2 separate regions of the Homo sapiens genome follow, and region 1 is linked to region 2. Evidence: promoter capture Hi-C in 16 types of primary human blood cells and fetal thymus (Javierre and others, 2016). All regions are on one chromosome and are shown on one strand. The core of a region is centred on a gene start or on the middle of the fragment in contact, and the rest is flanking DNA. Distances in the headings are between cores, read along the strand shown. Region 1 overlaps TNFSF11 (TNF superfamily member 11). Region 2 holds the start of ENOX1 (ecto-NOX disulfide-thiol exchanger 1).

Region 1 (2,700 bases), core at 163-2,662, 1.2 Mb after region 2:
ACATCTACATCCTTCTCTAGAGGCCCACAAGATAGAGAATGTTCTACAATTTTATCTCTAAAGAACTGGGAGCCTGGGATATGATCTGGGAGCCTCAAAACTAGGCTGTAGGAACCAAACAGGCAGTTCTTTCAACCACTTGGGAGAAAAACTGCAGCAAGGGCCATCCAACGGTGGGGCAACCCATCATGAGAAGACCAAGAATTCAATGGTTCCAATCCCTCTGTCCAGAAACAGGATATTTCCTGAACTCCACAACCTATCTGCAGCGGGGTCATCACAGGCCCTCTTGCCTCCTGGGCTCACCACAATAAACACCCTTCTTTTTCATCGGAGGTCTTATTTCAGGTCATCCCAGATTAAAGCACCCCAGATATAAATACCATCATCTGGCCCCAAGTGAGTGAGCATGATCATCACACCTTCATGAACACTAGTAAAAGCAATTCCTCTAATCCATTGACAAAATCCATGAAATTCAAGATGTTTCCCATCTCAAGTTATCCCATGCTGCCTTCATTCTTATCCCACTCTTGCAGTCAATTTGTTGTTCAATCAATGATTTTTCTTATAGTTATCTCTTAACAGAAGAGAAGTCTACCCTCTCAATGGGATGGATCAGCTGGCGTTAGAGCAAGATATGGCCTAGGAAGGCAAGGAAAGAATATGAAATAGAGAGGCAGGAGAAGAGAGGAACCTTGACCGATTACCATTCCCATTGTTAGGTAAGTCATGTGGAAGAAGTGCCCTTATTTCCTACTAAACATCTCTCTATTTTTGTGCATTGACTTACTCATACATTCACTGGTTCATGCTTTTGATCAGTCACACAATATCTACGTGGTGTTTTTAGGAACAGGCAGTCTGCCCGTAATTAAGAATTACATCAACCAACTGTGCCTTAATGGCACTCACCACTAATAGTAGAGAAAATAGAAAATGAGCATATAAAATATGCATTTTCACTTCTGCATGTTGCATAGCACATGGTTGACATTCAGTTACAAGCAACTGCCAAGAGACAGCTACAGAAATTCATGGCAAGCAGGAGAGCTCAGCTCAGGAAGGGGCAGAGAAGCCAGAGGACAGTGGGGCCTTGGGTCAGACTTGGATGGGCTGAGAAAAGGGAGGGTATTGTCAGTGAAGGAAACTGAGCAAAGAATGGAATATGCATGGCACGTATGGGGGAAAAGGAGGAGAGCCAGTCAGTGTGAAGAGAGGACTCAGAAGCAGATAATACCAGGTAAAAACATGAGAAAAATATGCAGTGATCACACAGCAGGCCTCACATGGAAACCTGGATTTTCATCACTGAGGCACACTGACAACCCCTGACTCCAGCCTGCCAGCTTTCCCAGCCTCCCCTGCCCTACACTTCAGTCCCTGCTGCTAAGTACCGCAGAAGAGGTCTCTGCAAATATTTAGCCTGAGTATCCTCCTAAAGAAAGCCATGTATTCTGACCTCACTAAATACTTCCCAACGCATTTCATCTAAGATATTTTGAAAATGCAAGTGGTATCAGTCCATATAAGGCAGATTCTGATTTTACTTGTGTAAGTAAGTATAAAACAGAGCCCCAAAATGAACATGCAAATTTAAAGCCACTTCCTCTGAAACCTCCAGTACTGGCCAAAACTGGGTAATAAATGGACTCAAGGAGTTGTGGGCCCAGCCAGAGCCACAAATTCTATTTTCTTAAACAGAAGTATACACTAACTCATCTCACTCAGTCACAAACTCAATAACTGTCAGAAAATAACCAGGAGTTTTGCCTTGTGTTTTTGGCAATGATTTGATGCTAGGTGCCTGCAGAGAGAGTTTTATAACTAAAACATGCTTGCTATTGCCAAACAGACTTTGGCAAACGGTCTAATGCAATATTTATCATATGCCATTTAAAGTGAACTGAAAAGATAAATGTAGGGAACATTAATAGCACACACAGCTGATGCATTAGTATTAATTTGACTGCCTTTGCTAACATGCAAAATAGTTTTCCACTCAGAGAAATTAATACAGATGCATCCATATTTATTTGATTGCCTTTGCTAACATGCAAAACAGTTTTCCACTCAGAGAAAATTAGTGTAGCTCCACCACAAGACATGCATAGACACACAGTGAGACAAATTATTTATGAAGCAAGTGTCTGGGACAGGAGAGGTCATTTGGAAAATCCTCTAAAAGCCAAAGAATTGGTTTCTCCCTTTCTGTGTCTTCGGTCAGGAAAAATTCCCCCTTGTCCATGCCGTAACAAAGTTTTCCAAATAACTTAGCAAAACTTGAACTTTCTTTCTTTAACTCCGAGAAAAACTTGCCTTAAATTATTTGTAGGAAAAAGGTGGAATATGTATAATTATTTAATTGAACTCAAAAATAACAAATCACACTCCCAAGTGCTTACTATGGCCGTTCTTCCACACAAGAATGTTAGCAGTCTACCTCATTTCATCTTCATAGCTACCCCTTGAGGCAGATGCTATCAACATCCCCATTTTAGACATGATGAAGCTGAAGCATATGTGATTGCAATAAATTGTACAAGGTCACAGAGCCAGGACAATGGAGCCTCAAACCCAGGCAGTCAGATTTTAGCACCCCTGTTATTAGACGTCACATGAATCTACTTCTCACAGGAAAAGAGAAACATAAGGGCTTTGAATTCTTTCCCTCTGGCCAAGCCAACTGACCACAAGTAC
Region 2 (2,700 bases), core at 81-2,580:
TACATGCATCCTTTGTTAAGGGTGCACAATGGATAAGTATTATTTTCTTTCTTTGCATTGGGGTTCTGACCGCCAGGGGGAAAAATAGCCACACACAAGGAAATGGCATAAGTTAAAATCAGGCAAGCCTAGTGGGGTGGTAATGACTTTCCCAGCATCCAAGTCTTTGCCTTCAGGTTACGTGAAGCTAGAAAACAATGTCATTCATTCAACATTTACAGGGAACTCACAAAGTACAGAGTACTATGCTAAGCACTGGAAGGCATGCAAAAGTGTGCAAAACACAATCCCTGCATTGAGGATTCCTGCCAGAAAGGGTATTTCAAGTATTACCCAGACCTTACGACCCTTGAAGAAATGCTTGTGTGAATAAAATCCCACTCAGAATTTAAAATAAGCAAGGAAAAGTATACTACTAAGACAATATATCTGTTAAGAGGCAGAGAATGTAAATGTGCTTTAAACATTTATTTCTGAAGTATTACAATGTAGTTGGGATGGAGGATCGGGGGATGTGGGTGTGTGTGGGGAGGTGGTGGGAGCGGTTCTTGGACGAGCCTGACTCTAAGGAGGCACTGCTTAGATGCCTGCACAGCTAAGTTGAATCCTAACAAAGAGGAGGCCGGCATTCTTACCTGGGAAGTGGGTAACTTTGAGAAAAAGTAGCCTCCAAGGAGGAAAAAAAGGCAACATGTCACCTGGGGTTAGGATCCCCTCACCCTTACCAACCTGAATGCTGACCGCACCCCGGCCGAGCCACTCTGGGCCGCACACCCCGCATCATCTGCCCAGGCCACGCGGCCCAATTCCACCGTCTACCCCAAGCCCACAATCCTGTAACACGCCCGCTCCAGCCTGGAGTCGGCCACGTGCGCCCGGGTTCTTCTCTTGGCCCTTCAGCGGGCCCGGCCCCTCCAAGGTCGCCGTAGCAACCGTGCGGTCCCTCTCTCGGTTCCCCCGCTCCCAGTAGAGCAGTCCCGACCGCGGCGGCGGTGGCGGGAGCGAGCGGCCTCGGCCCCTCCCGAGAGGGGGCAGCGCGACCGTGGGCTGCGGGCGCCGCCTCTGCTGCATCGGTGGCTGCGCGCTCCGCTCGGCTCTGCCGGGCTGGGATCCGGAGCCCTAGCGCGCCTCGCTGACTTCCCCTCCTCCTCTGCTGCCGCCCCGTGGGCAGCTTCTCCAAGCGAGACACGCGTTCGATCCTCCTTCCCCGCGTTTACGGATTTCCGGGGTCGTAGAATTTTGCCTCGGTCCCTACGAGCATCTCTCGGCCTCTCTCCCCCTCCCCTCGCGACTCCCCCACCCCGTGGGCGCGCGCGCACCCATACACTCACACTCGCAGGCGCGCGTGCGCACGCCCGCGCGCCTCCAGCCGCGGAGTCTCCAGCGCCCCTCAGCAGATCCCCGCTCTCCCGGGCGCCGCTACTCACACAGGCTTCCAGCCGCCACGGGGCGTCCTCTGTCTGCTGCAGCGGCGGCGGCAGCAGAGGGAACGGCGACTGCAGCCCGGCCGCGTCTCCCAGCTCCGTGCCCGGGACAGAGTCCGGGAGAAGCAAAGGAGGAGGAGGACGCCGAGGCTAGGAGGAGCCGCGCCGCGCCCGGCGCCCCACTCCGCGCAGCGGGTTGCCTCCGCTCCCCATACGGCGGCCCCAGGTAAGCAGCTCCGGGGCCCGCAGCCTCCCTGGGGCGTCCGGGCTCCGAGCCGGGGTCCTCTGGTCTCACCCCCGCCACGGCACCTGGATCTAGACTGAGAGGGGAGTGGGCGAGGGGGGAGGGGAGTGGAGCTAGAGGTGAGGCTGGTGAGGAGGGGTGCGTGGACGCGTGGGGGCTTCGGTGCAGCCCCCACGCCCTTCCCCGCCGTGCCCCGTCTCAAGCTCCCTCACTTTTACGCGCCCGGGGGTGCCCAGCGCCCCAGACAGCTGTTCCCCGCTCTCCCCTCCGCCCGCCAGCCAGTGTCAGCTCCGGGCTCCGCGCCCGCCGCGCGCCAGTCACCTCCCCTGCACCTTGGACAGCGCACCCCGCACCCGTCTCCCCCTGCGGGCGTCGCCCCCGGGACCCGTTCCTGCCCACACAGTGTTCCCGCTGCCCTCTTCTTTCAGGTTTTCACCCTCCCGCTCTGCATCCCTTTTCCTCCAGCCTTGGCGGACTCCGCTCTGCTGCGGGCCGGAAACTTTCCTCCCCGCCTAGTCTGCGCTGGGTACTGTTGTTATTCGTGACTGTCCCCTCTCGCGGGGAGCTCGGACACCTTGGACAGGTCTTCGTCGGCGGGAGCGCGCCCTGCCTGGCCCAACGCGAGGTAAAGGAGGCACTGGGGCAGCCGGACTCGGCCGCTGCCAGGGTGCAGAGCCCGCGCCTCGGCCGCTGGACGCCGGCCGCCTCCCCGCCTCTCCGGACCCGACACGTGCGAGCCTCCCACGGACGCGGCCCCTCCCAGACCACCCCACGTCCTCCCCCTGCACGGCCACAGCCACCCCATAGGTTGGACACCCGGGGCTCGCGGGTCCTGATTGGCTGAAGGCGTAACCCCGCCCTCTTTCGGAAGGGGGGTGGTTCTGGAGTGTTGTGGTTGTCATCCCGCGGCGAGCACATGGGGAAAGTGGGGTCGACAGGTGGGCAAGCCCAGCTCTGTGGAATCTCTGCGTCTCACTGTATAGCCACTGAGCCACGCTTCTTCACCCAGATACACTCCTGCTTCTCTCCTTT

The links. Contacts are between HindIII fragments. The CHiCAGO score rates a contact against its expected background, and 5 or more counts as called.
Region 1: a contact is called between a fragment that was not itself captured here and the fragment with the promoter of ENOX1 in region 2, in 2 of 17 cell types (naive B cells and total B cells). The highest score is 6.6, in naive B cells.

Annotation. Positions count from the first base shown.
Region 1 is chr13:42,602,018-42,604,717 of GRCh38, reverse strand. All of the region lies in intron 4 of TNFSF11 (TNF superfamily member 11), which reads right to left. Among named protein-coding and RNA genes, the nearest start is that of TNFSF11, 29 kb to the right of the region's middle. The HindIII fragment of the contact is 4,763 bases long and covers 1-2,700 here.
Region 2 is chr13:43,785,602-43,788,301 of GRCh38, reverse strand. ENOX1 (ecto-NOX disulfide-thiol exchanger 1) reads left to right here and starts at 1,330. Exons shown (of 17, transcript NM_001347969.2): 1 at 1,330-1,650. The HindIII fragment of the contact is 7,995 bases long and covers 1-2,700 here.